5 separate regions of the Homo sapiens genome follow, and all the other regions are linked to region 1. Evidence: promoter capture Hi-C in human tissues and cell types (Jung and others, 2019). All regions are on one chromosome and are shown on one strand. The core of a region is centred on a gene start or on the middle of the fragment in contact, and the rest is flanking DNA. Distances in the headings are between cores, read along the strand shown.

Region 1 (2,689 bases), core at 70-2,569:
GTTTGGTGCAGAAGAAAGGAAGAAAACCAGAGCTTAAAGGCGTTTAGAAAGGAAATAGCCCTGTTAGTTTTTCGGTTTTGACTCAAGCTGTCGTCGATAGCAGCTTGCACCTAGCACAAAGCCAGCTGCAGAAGTATTTTGTTGCAGGGTAGGCTACACCTACACAGGGTCTGTGCCTGAGCATCAAAAGACAGTGCAGGTGTGTGTGGGTCCGGGTGTGCGTGTGCGTACGTGATGTACGTGTGTGCGTGTGGGTACGTGTGTGTGTAGCCCAACAAATAAGCCCAAGAGGCGCATCAAGATTAGAAAGAAGTCCGCACACCAGCGCTTGCCTTGGAAATTTCCTAAAGCGCTGAGAGTTGGTTGGTAAATCACTAGTATCCGAAAACTGTCTTATCAGAGGCTCCTTCCCCGGTGCCCTACTCGCCCCCTAAAACAGGTGTCGCTGTGTCCCTTGAAGCGGCCTTTGGCCCGCTGGGGCATCGCAGGTGGGTAAAATTCAGAGGACATTCGGTGTTTATTTCTGGGGCCCCACGTGTGCAAACCAAACCCCCGGGGCCTGGGCGTGTGCGCGCGCTCGCGTGCCTTGTGTGCGGGCGGGCATGGGGGCGCTCGGCGCGGCTGGCGGGCGTGCGCGCGCGCGTTTGTGTGTGTGTGTGTGTGTGTGTGTGTGTGTGCTCGTGCGGGGGGCCGGGCTGCGTGCTCACGCGCTCCAGGCTGCGCCCAGAGCTCAGCTGCTGGGTTGGAGAAAAAGAGGGTAGGCAAGCGCAGGGGGCGGGCGGCCGAGGAGCGCTTTCGAATTAATCGAGCTAGCTTAGCTGTTTTTCCCTCTCCCGCTCCTTTAAACCCCCCTGCATCGTAGAGAGCGGGCTGGATTCTCTGTGGTGCTGATGGAGGAGGGGGAGCAGGTTGAAACAATCGAGTGGGCGCGCCAGGACTCCCCAGCTCCTGGCGGGGAAGGGAGGGGGAGCCCCTGTTCTGCGCAGGGAGGCGGCGGGGCTGGGGGGCCCCCGGAACGAGGAAGAGGCAGGGGTGACCGCTAGAATAGGAAAGTGCTCACCCCCGGGAGGCAAAATTTCGTTCAGATCGCACATTAATTGGAGATATCTGATTAATTCCAGCTTCTGATGACTATAAATGGCGATTCTCTACCAAGGTGTCTATATTAAAAAAAAAATCATTCCGTGTCATCCCCCACGTCAGGCCTGCTCGTGGGCGTGAGGCTGTACTTCCTCCGCCCCCTTCTAATGGAGTGAACCATTCCCAGCTCTCCCCCCCCCCTCAGCCTCTCTCTCTCTCTCTCTTTCTCTCTCTCTCTCTCTTTCTGTCTCTTCCTCGCTCCCTCTCTTTCTCTCCTCCCTCTGCCTTCCCAGTGCATAAAGTCTCTGTCGCTCCCGGAACTTGTTGGCAATGCCTATTTTTTGGCTTTCCCCCGCGTTCTCTAAACTAACTATTTAAAGGTCTGCGGTCGCAAATGGTTTGACTAAACGTAGGATGGGACTTAAGTTGAACGGCAGATATATTTCACTGATCCTCGCGGTGCAAATAGGTAAGTGGCCGCTCAGCCCGGCTGGAGGCTGGAGGCGGGAGGCAGCCTGCCCCGGCCCGAGGCGCGGAGGGGGACTAGCGGGTCCGCGGCCGCCCCAGGGTGCGGAGAAGCCGGCAATCCCCCGAGGGTGGGGGCATCAGTTCCTGGGGACTAGCGCGTCCCAGATCGGTTTTTCCTAAAGCTATAGATTCCAAATGTTCGCCAGGAAATGTGTGCGGCCGGACATTTTCTGGACACGGTTTTTTTCCCCCTTTTTCCTGAGCACACATCCATTTTTGTTTCCCTTTCTGGGTTTATACCAGGTTTGGTGCGCTCTGGGGCAATGTACTGGCCCCTGCGATACTGCAAGATATGATTTTGAAGAGTCGAAATGTGAATGCAGGAATAAAATGGCTAGGCAGCCAGGACTGGAAAGTTTATGTGCTGAAAGCAAAGATATTCCAGGGCTCAGACTGCTGCATTTAGAACTTTGTCATTCTCCCGCCCCTCCTCCCCCCTATATCCTAGCTGCAGCGTTTGCACGGGCACCGCAGACCCGGCTGGTGGGCAAATCGAGAGTGATAGGGAACTTCAGACCACATATTTTAACATGCTTACCATTGAAGAGGATGAATTCAGCCAAATTTACGTAGATATACTTTTCTAGATGCATTTGCCTGCTACTTTACACATTGGTGTCTGCATTTTATATATAGGAAAGGGTTAAGAAGTGTTTGGAATATGTCATGTCGGGTGTTTGTTATTTTTGTTTGTTTGGGATTGGTTATGGAAGGAATTATTTAGTCCCCATTTTATGTTAAGGAATGTTGAGTTGTAGTTACGCTGTCAGGGGTCTTTTTAAAGTTCACATTTTTACCATCCAGAATGAAGAAAAGATATAGAAGAGGGCACTAGAAAACCCCCTTCTCCGACACTGGGTCAGAACATTAATTAACGTGGCCTAAAAGTGAAAGTGAAGCAGGTTATTAATAGAATGGACAACACGGGGGAAAAAAGAAACTCCTGAAACGGAATTGTTACCTCCTATCAGTTCAGGCTGTGGCATTCTTTGCAGACAAATCCTTGCAGTATTGGGGGAGGGGGTGCTTTAGGTAATTGGTTTGGGGCAAGAAAGGAGAATGCATAATATGTTTTTTCCAT
Region 2 (2,689 bases), core at 67-2,566, 410 kb after region 1:
GGCCTTAGCTCTGAAGGACCCTCCACTGAGGTTTTAAGTTTCATTAATTCCAGCCTCTTCGATTGTTCCCTCAGCCCCAGGGTGGGGAGCTGCTTTCTGCCATCTACCTCCATGATAACCTCCACGTTCTCCTCTTGACTTCTTAATTACCTCCCTCAAAGGCTAACATTTCTTTAGTTTAAATTCTCTGTATTAAAAACCAAACAAATGGCATGGTTTCTGTCTCCTGCCTCGACCTCACTGATGCGGCAAAGAAGGAAGGGAGAAACAAATTTATCAAGAAGTCTGTGGTCTTTATCCCTGTTATCGCACCAGATTCTAATAAAGTACAGAAAGAAAACACAGAAAAACCAATTCACAACATAAATTTAAACAAAGAACTGAAGGAACAAGGGTGTTGATAAGTTGCTCAGGGAATGACAAAGGTGCTTCAGGCACGAATCCTCTGCTCATCGAGGGGAACTTCAAAGGTACCAGCTCCCTCTCCTCTTGTGATACTCAACAAGAAAACACTCTCCAAGTACTATGCCCTACACTGAAGGGTCCCCATCCCTGCAAAGAAAAGATCCTAGGCCTACATGCCCTCAAGTTTCTTTCCCTTCCACCCAAAAAATACTCAGCGATGTCAGAAGAGAACTCCCAACTAGGTGAGGGACCTGGGAATCAATGTCAGGAAGGGTGAAGGAGTATGGAACAGGACTGGAGGTGCCTGTCCCCATGCCTGCCACGTGGAAACACTCCTTCCACAGACCCTTAGCCAGGGATTTAGCTGCTGTGTGTTCAGCCACCTGCTACCCTGTGGGGCCATCATTAATTGTGTTTGAACAATAGCAATGAGCCAGAAAATACAGCCCTACATTCTGACTGGCACAGGACTCTCCGACCATCTTCCTGTCCCCATGGCTTCTCCACTGCCCCGAAATGCCATAAAAAATTCGCCTGAGCCTGAATAAAATCGAATGAAACATTTTCCTATGGGCTATTTTTTTCAATAACTTCCTCCCCAAATAACCCAAGGATTCAAAGTGGTTTGCGGAGCCTCACCATTGTCCTTACTTGACAGGTAATATGGAGACAGCCTTTGTTCCCACGGAAAGTGTGAAGAACCTGAATGTGACAAACCACACAGGAGGTAACTTCCTTTTGGCAGAGTTGTCCACAGGTGCTGAATTTCTTTAATTTATTTATTTTTGTGGAGAGGGAGGTGGAAGACGATGGGCATAAAAAGACACCCACTGGCTCATCATTTCAGTTGGAGGTGTTTCTCTGCAACATGTTCTCTTGCTGCACCTTCTCTTACAGGTATCACTTTGCCCCTGCACTGTGAAGATAACTGTTTACTGGGTACGGCCGTGCACCTCTGTGTTTGGAAAGGCACCAGCAGAGGCCGGTGGGGGCGGGAGGTGCAGTTCCTTCATGGAGGAGCCATAGGGGTAACCTTCCAAGAGACACGGCTTTGCGTGAGCTGGAAAACCTTGCATGGATACGCCTGTTACTCACTCACGGTCGGCAGGATCCTGTCTGTTCTGTCCACCCCTCCTCACTTGTTCTGTGTGCTGCTAATGAACCAGAAGCACGGCATTGCTCAGGACGGCTTTGGTCGGCTCACCCTTTCTAGTACTGTGACAAGGAGATAAGGCAGAAAGCAGAGATGGGAGGAGGGTGAGGGCCAGAGGGAAGATTTGTGAGATGAGGCAGAGAGAGAAGAAGCGCCGATCGCCTTAAGAGGCTGGGCTGCAAGCAGGTTGTGACCAGGCGCTGTGTGGCCCAGTGTGATGGATGGTTGGTCCCTCATGCCACCAGCTGTGACTTCAAGAGGCCTGGGTACCTGCTAGGTCCTCCTTTCTGGGCTTTTCTCGCTCTGGGCCTCGTGGCAGGCAAGGAGTACTGACTGTGCTGCGAATATGAAACATTTCTTTGCTAAGGGAAAGCGAGGGGAGACAAAGCAGGGTATATCAACATCAGAGACGGCGTCTGCTGCCTTCCCCATTCTTACTGGCTATCGGTTGTTTTGAAATACGGGATCTCTCCAGGTGCCTAGCATATGTCCTCTCAGCTCTAAAGCAAAGGCACTAGATAAATCCAATAAACAAAGAAAGAGTCTGGGGTAGAGGCTCAGTCTATTTCAGGGTTGGCAGGTTGGTGAATTTTCTACTGTAAGATCACACCACTGTTTTCAAGGGATTTAAAATATTACAAGTGATAGTAGAGGCTGTGTCTCTTAAAGATTTGAACCAGTCAAAGTAAATATGGCAGGTTTGTTTTTTGTTGTTGTTGTTTTGTTTTTCTTTTCTGTTTTTTTTTTTTGGAGACAAGGTCTCGCTCTGTCACACAGGCTGGAGTATAGTGGCGTGATCACGGCTCACTGTAGCCTCAACCTCCTGGGCTCAAGTGATTCCCTGACCTCAGCCTCCCAAGTAGCTGGGACTAAAAGCATATACCACTATGTGTGGCTAATTTTTGTATTTTTTTGTAGAGATGGAGTTTTCCCATGTTGCCCAGGCTGGTCTCAAACTCCTGAGCTCAAGCAGTCTTCCCACCTTGGCCTCCCAAAGTGCTGGGATTACAGGCGTGAGCCACCGCGCTCAGCCAAATATGGCATATTTTAAAAGGCTAGAGCAGCCATATAAAAATATGAGCATCTACAAAATGTATTGTCTGCAAACACTTTGGCATCAATCGACCCATC
Region 3 (2,689 bases), core at 113-2,612, 400 kb before region 1:
AGGCAATTTTAAAGAAAGAAAGACTAGGACATCTCTCTGTGTTTTAAAATACATAAATGTATTTCTATATAACCAATGAGTCAAAGAAGGGATAATGGATGCTTGAAAATATATTAAACAAAATGCTAAGAAAAATACCACATATTCGAACTCATAGGACACAGTTAAGGGCAGGATTAGAGAAAAACTTATATCCTCAAGGTGAATATGTAAGATAAAAGAAAGTCACAAAAGTAATGAACTAAGCATCTTTCCAGGAAACTAGAAAAAGAACAGCAAAATAAACCCAAATGAAGTAAAAGAAAATATATTTGATGTTGTTTTTTTTGTAGATTCCCCTCAGCAAATTAAGAAAGTTTCATCTTATTCTACTTTATGATGGCACTTCATGATGAATGGATGTTGAAATGTAGCAAACATTTTTTTCTGCATCTATTAACGTTGTTTATGTGGACTTTTTTCCTTTGATCTGTGAGTGTGGCTAATCACAGCAACATATTTTTTTCTTTAATGTTGAAACAACCCTACATTCCTCGGGTGAATTCAATTTGGTCATTTCTTCCTTTTGAAAATTGCTAGATTACATTTGCCGATGTCTTATTCATTCGTTTTGCATTTATGTTTATAGATAAGATCAGTCTGTTATTTTCTTCCTCTTGTTTTACTATCCTTATTGAATTTCGGCATCAAGGTGTTGCTAGAATCATAAGGTGAACTGAGGAACGTGTCCCTCTTTTTCTTATTTAAAGAGTTTGATAAAACTATCAGCATTTTTTCCTTGAATATTTTGTGAGATCATCTAGTGAAGGAAGTTAAATATCCTTGGATTATCATCGTGGAGAGAGTTTGGATTACTAATTCAAGTTCATTGATGGTTATATTACAGTTTATTCCTCTTATTTCTTCTTAAATCAGTTTTAAAAAGATGTATTTTTTAGAAATTTGTCTATTTCATCTAAATTATCAATTCTCTTGACAGAAAGTTGTTAATAATAGTCTTCTGTGCTTAATGTCTGCAGGATACCTAATGATGTTTGTTTATTCATTTTTGTATTATCTCACTTAATCTTTACAAATAAAGCTATGATAAATACTATGATTATTTCCACTCTATAGTTGAGGGAACTGAGTAAGCTTCAGAAAGTTAAGTCATCTCTCTATTAATGGACAGATCATAGATTTGAATCCAGGCAGCTAGGGTTCCCTTCTTTGACTCTTAACTAATCATTATGTTATACTTTTTCCATCATAGTAGTGATGACAATGACACTTCAAAGACCAGGGTATCTACAGTTTTGGTAACACATGGGCTTTATATAATTTTATATTTTTGTTGCTGTTTTATAAAATGTTCACTAAACTAGTTGGACCTGGTTCTAAAGAGTCAACATTGAATCCATCCCTGGATAGGCAATTTTTTTTCTCACTGATTGCTTTAGTCCAAGCTTGTAACAAGACAGCCTTACCAGATTAAATTGCAGGTTTTTGTTTACAAAAAGGTTTGTGTAAAACCCAGACGCACTGTTGGAATTAAGAAGTAATACATCTTCACTTCTAAGACTCTAGGCCAAGCCACCACCATTTCTTGTCTGAGATGCTGTAATAACTTACAGTTGGTCTCCTTTTGATCAATTTTCTACAAAGAAGTCATTATTTTGTTTTAAAAACATACATTATACCATGCCATGTAATTTCCTTATTACAGACCTTCCTTTGGGAATAATATTTTCAGATTTATTATAATGCTTTCTTTTTTCTTTCATTACCAAGGAAACAACCTTGCTGTGGCTTGCTGAAGACACTTAACCTTTGAGGAGTTATTAGGACTTATTATAGAAGAAATCAGTTGGGCTGAGGAAGTGAGACAAGGAAGGGAAGGAGGCCGTTGCGGGCTTCATTAATGAGCTGTTACCATGTGGGCAGCTGGAGCTCCATCCCACTGGAGGGCTTGCTTCTGGGACACTACATATAATCTGCTTCAGAATTGTCCTACTCGAGTGGGGGCGGATTGGTTATTTATCCACCCACTCTTGACTGACATATTGAGATCGTCTTGTGAGGGAATGAACTTTCTGGCACTTCAGGCCTGTCGTGCACATAGACCAAGAATTCCTCGTGATTAGAGAATTCCCTCTGCAAGAGGGTCACAGATGCTTACAGCTAAAAGCCATCTGCCTGTAAGGGAACAGTGGATATCAAGAAAATATGGGTGAAGCCTCAATACTTGCACTGCTGTGGTCAAATTCTGTCCCATCTTAAGTTCACTCTGTCTGATAACTGATTCTTCACAGTGAAATCCAGCCATAATTTCTTTAAAACACAACAAAGCAAAGTTCAGTAGGAGGATTAATAGGACCAGCTACAGTCCCTGCTGCTTCAGTTGATCCCAAGGACATAATAGACATTTACCTCCCTCTTTTACTGTCCACTCTAGATGCTCCTCACGCTCATTCAACACTTCTGCTTGGGTTTCTTGTGCAATCGGTGGCCCAGACATTGATACTGAAGCTTCTGAGTTACTGGTTACTGTGCCCTAGTCATGCCATGATTGCTGACTGCTCTTTCATGGTTATTACTGGACACAGAAGCACAAAAAGCCATCCCTGAGTCCTTGATATACTCTTCTGTGCCACCTTTAGCCAGCAGCAACCATAGATCCTAATGATAATCAAGGTTGATTATGCCCATC
Region 4 (2,689 bases), core at 115-2,614, 310 kb after region 1:
AATTTCCTCATCTGTAAAATTGGGATAATAAAAGTGCCTTTAAAGGCTTCTCGTCAAGACCAAGTAAAATAATGTGGTTACAACTGAGTGCACGGCACACAGGAAGTGTTCAGTAAATGGTGGCTTTACTTCCCTGAGATTTTAAACACCATCACCACTTAACAGCTCCAGCAAATGAGTCACAGACATGTGGCAAATTCCTGTTTCTCTGGAAGGCAGAGAAAGCACTGGGAATGACAGCGTACCGCCCGTGGGCCAGTCCCTGGCTTGCTGTGGCACTGCCACAAATGCTGCTGTTGTGTAACTTCCTAGGAAGCAGGATTAATTCCTAGCATGGATCTTAAGTCACTCTGGGATCTAAGAGATGTTTCGATCATTCTGGGATTTATGCTTCTTGAAAAGGCTCAGGACAAATGGCAGTGAAGGCTACGTGGATACACAGTTTGTGGGTAAGCACAGCGTCATCACCTTAACTTTCATGAGAATGAAAAGAAGAAATTGCTCAAGAAAAAACCAGAATTGAGACAAGAAATACAAGTGTAAAAGCTTACATGGCATTTATATATATCTGTTTTTTTCTTTTAGAGATGGGGTCTTGCTCTATCACCCAGGCTGTAGTGCAATAGTGTGAGCATAGCTCACTGCGGCCTCGAACTCTTCCAGGGCTCAAACGATCCTCACACCTTAGCCTCCCCAATGGCCAGGACTACAGGTGCGTGCCAGCAAGTTTGGCTAATTTTTTTTTTTTTTGTAGAGGTGTGGGGGGTTCTCACTATGTTGCCAGGCTGATCTCAAACTCCCGGCCTGAAGCAATCCTCCTGCCTAGGCCTCCAAAGGGCTGGGATTATAGGTATGAGCCACTGCACCTGGCCGTTACATGGCATTCCATATAGGATTCCTCCTTTTTCAAATGAGAACTCATAGGCACTACACATTGCTGAGTCCTTTAGAACATAGAGAGAAATATATACACCTGGTTGAAGGTCGTGCTGAATATTCACACTCGGTCTCTTATCTGATTCTATTTATCATGGCTAAATAGGTAAAAAATATATAAAATATAAAAACTCCTCCAAAGAACTCAATTATTTAAAAAGCTGCTTACTTTAACAGAGAACAGAGTCAAACTTTAACCAATTCTTATATGAAGGAATCTACTTTCCCCATAATTTCTAATCAATGTAACCTTCTATTATTCAGGAAAAAAGGTAGCCTAGATCTAAGGTATCATGATGTAACTGATTCAGAGTGGCAGTAGCTTTTTTGGTTGAATTTCAATTTCCAAATAGCTAGAAAACACTCCTGTTGGCTACCTGTTGTTAACTTAGCATCAAGACTGCTGCTCAGGTACCAGGCCTAGCATACACTGACCTTAGCTACTATAAGAAATGCTAAGGATTAGCTATATTCCTATTAACATGTTTTCAGATGTGTTTTCACCAGAGAACTCAACTTGTTTATTTCCTACAGAAACCTCTACATAGAGCACAGCACAATCTCTCAAATACAGCAGCAATGCTATCATCCAACTTACATGATCTTCCAGTGCGGCTTTGACAATCCTCCCTTTGAGAGGCGCAGGCTATGACCTCTTGCCTTGAAAATGGGTGGGCTTTTATGACTGCTCCCGCTAGTAGAGGGCGGTGGAAATGATGCTATGTGACTTCTGAGGCTAGGTGACAAAGATAGCGGAGCTTCCACCTGCTGACTTGCACACTTGCTACCATATAAGGAAGCTAACAATTCAGAAGACACTGCAGTAAGGAAGGCCAGGCCGCTTGGAGAGGTGAAATGTTCTCCAGCCATCACCCCAGCAAGTCCCAGCAGCCAGCCAGCGTCCAGTGCCAGATGTGTAAGTAAAGATGCCTCATCCCAGCCTAGCCAAGCAGTCACTCCCAGTCTTCGAGTCTTCCCAGACAAGGCCCCAGCATCACAGAATGGAGACAAGGACACGTGAGCACAATAAAATCAGTGCTTTATGTCACAAAGTTTTGAGGCAGTTTGTTACATGGCAATAGATAACCAGATTTTTACTCTAGGTTTACTTGAAAACAGGCCACCTTGCAACTGCTAAGGATAAATGATTCCCCAAAGCAGTGCAAAACTTCTGCAGAACAATGCAAACGCATTAGCCGCCTTGCCCATTAATATCCTGCTCAGCAGCCACGCTTTGGGAGGCAGTCGTTCATCTCTCCCTCCCTACATCAAAGCTAAGCAATGGATTCCCCATAAGTCATCAGGCTGCTCCAGGATTAGTGGTGAGGGGGCAGATCTGGTGAGGGTTTTCTGAAAATAAAGTAAAATATTTAGATCATTTTGCAAGTTGCTTTTCAGATGCCACATTTTTCTCTTTCATCTGTTCCAGCTGACAACGTGTGACAGTTGTCTCTGTGGCTGTTTAACCTTAAAACCATTTATCCTGAGATCATTAAAGATGAATGTCAGGCTGGATTTGCTATGTGTAAAGTAAACTAACAGGATGTTACTATGCCAGAAGAGTACAATAATAACTTATTGTTAATATTTGTTTTGCAAAACAGATGAAATACAAATTCTCTAATACAAAGTCTAACACAAAACAACGGGATGGGGAAGGGAAATATGGTATTGACTAACCTGAATCTATAAGGATCCTCATTTCTGGTGGGGAGAAAAAAAGGAGGTGGGATAAAGAGCCAGAGTATTACCT
Region 5 (2,689 bases), core at 138-2,637, 270 kb after region 1:
GCTGGCTGTTAAATATTATGAATATAACCCCTAAGCGTTCCAAGATTTTGTCTTACGTTCTAGAAAATGAAAAAAACCGACAACGATACACACGCAACTCTTTGGTTAAAGTTTTATGCTTTCAGGAGTCTTGAAACTGCATTTTTTTTTTCTAAATGTATGGTCTGTGTTAAGTTTTTTTATTTTAACTGTTGGAAAGAAATCTGACTAGCTTCGTGACTCGTAACCAACTCTTCTTGCTGTTACCATATGGTGTTTCCTTTAATAAAAACATTTTACAGAAATAATGATTAAAAAAACTACTTTAAGCTTTTATAAAAGTTAGATGTTTCTGGCAATAAAAACATCCCTTATAATTATGTAGATAGCTTTGTACCCAGTAAACAGGAAAAACTCTGTTCTTGCTGTTTTACTTCTAAGAAATGATGATGCTCTCTGTCATTCATCTTTGGACATATTCTGAATCTCTTACTCATTGACCTCACTTTGGATCGTAGTAATGTACACTGAAAGAACCTGTTCTATTCATACATCTTTTAGGGTTCTGTTTCCTCTGACTGTTTGCAGTACAGCAACATATTCAATCTCTTCAGAGCTCTGGCATACTGTGTCACTTCTGATGAGGGCAGCTGCATTCAACAAAAGAAAAAGGACACATTTAAAAAATTCTAGAAGTAGCTGGGTGTGGTGCTTATGCCTGTAATCCCAACACTTTGGGAGGCCAAGGCAGGAGGATTGCTTGAGCCTGGAGTTTGAGACCAGCTTGGGCAACATAGTGAGACCCTGTCTCTACAAAAAAATTAAAAAATTAGCTGGGCGTGGTGGTGTGCATCTGTAGTCCCAAGTACTCAGAAGGCTGAAGTGGGAGGATTGCGTGAGCCTAAGAATTCAAGATCACAGTGAGCCATGATTGCACCACTGCACTCCAGCGTGGGTGACAGAGCAAGATGTGGTCTCTAAACAACAACAACAACAAGAATAATAACAACGAATTCTGAAGGTATGCAGAACAAAGCAACTGCTAATAGTGCCATGGGGAATCTGGGCTCTTCTTTCTGTCCCACCATCCTTAGGAAGCAAGCCACGGTCTTCATGGGTTGCAAGATGGCTGCTCCCTCTCCAGTCCTCCTATCAGCAATGCACAGATAGACGGAAGAAGGGTACATGGTAAAAGGCCAAAGGGGCATGCCAGACAAAAAGCCCTCAGGGAACCTCATCCAGAAATTTCTGCTTATTCTCATTGGCCAAAACTGGGTCACATGACCACCTCTAGGCTGGGATGGGGAAGTTATGCATGCAGGCTAGGTCAGCTGACCAATGCCATCTGCCACTCACACTATTCCAGAAAGCAGGGAGGGGGCTCACTTCCCTTCCCATAGGATCTTCTTTCTTTTTCAGACAGGGTCTTGCTCTGTCGCCCAGGCTGGACTGCAGTGGCACAATCTTGGCTCACTGCAACTTCCGCCTCCTGGGTTCAAGCAATTCTTCTGCCTTAGCCTCTTGAGTAGCTGGGACTACAGGCACATGCCACCACGTACAGTTAATTTTTGTATTTTTAGTGGAGACGGGGTTTCACTATGTTGGCCAGGCTGGTCTCAAACTCCTGACCTCGTGATCCACCCACCTTGGCCTCCCGAAGCTCTGGGATTATAGGCGTGAGCCATTGCGCCCGGCCAGGATCTTATTTCTGAAGCCTATTCTATTTCTTGTTTCCCCCATTGCCTTTCAGGATCCCTTTTGAGTGGCTCTGAGTGTATTTCTGTGAAGTTTTCGAGGCTCAGTTTTACTTCTGATGGAAGTAACTGTGTGATCTCCCTTCACGCAGGGTCATCTGTGTTGCTAATGTATGGTACCTGTGAAGTCTGATTTCATTTCCTTACATTAATTCATAGGGTGAAGGGAAAGTAGAGTAAATTTAAATGAATGTTTTCATCCAAAATAATCTGCCTTAGTGTGGAGGGCGAGAGGAAGGGAGCAAACTCACGTGCTAATGGGCATGGTGGAGACAGAAGAGAGATGAGTGAGATGGGATGCAAGTTATTCCACATTACAGCAGCTGAGGCAGTAAATTGGTTTGCCATGTACTTACCCATCACTCTTAGATAACTCTCCCTTCTGGATTAAAAAAGGGGTATTCTAGCACCTATGTGGTTTAAATTTATGCAAGAGTTGAATTCATGCTGGTCTATATTTAAAGCTCTGCAGCCATTTCTAGGATAAATAGCAAGGGGTACATGCAATTTTTTAAAAAAAAAAATCCCTTAAGGTTAAGCTGGAAAAATAGTTTCTAGCTTGTTTTTAAACTACTATCAGTTGAGCTTTTGCACTTGAATACAATCCAAAAAATAATCAGGTGACATGTCTTAGAATCAATGTGGACATAACCTTATTCTGAAGGGCTGCTTGCCCTATTTGCGCTGGTCTTTTTAGAGGCAACAGTTGTGAGGAGGAGGAGGAGAATTCTCTCAGCTCTCCAGAGACAAGAATGTGCCACCTGTGGTGGCAATCTCCAGAGATGCCCCCTAGAGATCCCCACCTCCTGGTGTTCCTGTCTTGTGTGGCCCCTCCCACAATGGACCAGGGTCAGTCTGTGTGTTCAAGAGAATATGGCAGAAGTGATGGTGTGTCACTTCCAAAGCCAGGCTACTCAAGACATGTGGCCTCTCCCTGCTCTTGGGTCACTCCCTGG

The links. Contacts are between HindIII fragments. The study calls those that stand out against the background at their distance.
Region 2: a fragment that was not itself captured here is called in contact with the fragment with the promoter of NRN1 in region 1 in 1 of the 25 tissues and cell types used here (mesenchymal stem cells).
Region 3: a fragment that was not itself captured here is called in contact with the fragment with the promoter of NRN1 in region 1 in 1 of the 25 tissues and cell types used here (bladder).
Region 4: a fragment that was not itself captured here is called in contact with the fragment with the promoter of NRN1 in region 1 in 1 of the 25 tissues and cell types used here (spleen).
Region 5: a contact is called between a fragment that was not itself captured here and the fragment with the promoter of NRN1 in region 1, in 1 of the 25 tissues and cell types used here (thymus).

Annotation. Positions count from the first base shown.
Region 1 is chr6:6,005,555-6,008,243 of GRCh38, reverse strand. It overlaps NRN1 (neuritin 1), which reads left to right and starts at 1,319. Exons shown (of 3, transcript NM_016588.3): 1 at 1,319-1,549. The coding sequence starts at 1,495. The HindIII fragment of the contact is 19,231 bases long and covers 1-2,689 here.
Region 2 is chr6:5,592,005-5,594,693 of GRCh38, reverse strand. The region is part of intron 5 of FARS2 (phenylalanyl-tRNA synthetase 2, mitochondrial); the gene reads right to left. Among named protein-coding and RNA genes, the nearest start is that of FARS2-AS1, 140 kb to the right of the region's middle. The HindIII fragment of the contact is 9,548 bases long and covers 1-2,689 here.
Region 3 is chr6:6,402,012-6,404,700 of GRCh38, reverse strand. The region is part of intron 4 of LY86-AS1 (LY86 antisense RNA 1); the gene reads left to right. Among named protein-coding and RNA genes, the nearest start is that of F13A1, 83 kb to the right of the region's middle. The HindIII fragment of the contact is 3,779 bases long and covers 1-2,689 here.
Region 4 is chr6:5,692,905-5,695,593 of GRCh38, reverse strand. The region is part of intron 6 of FARS2 (phenylalanyl-tRNA synthetase 2, mitochondrial); the gene reads right to left. It overlaps LOC101927950 (a long non-coding RNA gene), which reads left to right and starts at 322. Exons shown (of 4, transcript NR_110842.1): 1 at 322-449; 2 at 586-712. The HindIII fragment of the contact is 5,103 bases long and covers 1-2,689 here.
Region 5 is chr6:5,736,237-5,738,925 of GRCh38, reverse strand. All of the region lies in intron 6 of FARS2 (phenylalanyl-tRNA synthetase 2, mitochondrial), which reads right to left. Among named protein-coding and RNA genes, the nearest start is that of NRN1, 270 kb to the left of the region's middle. RefSeq lists an enhancer at 907-1,408. The HindIII fragment of the contact is 3,779 bases long and covers 1-2,689 here.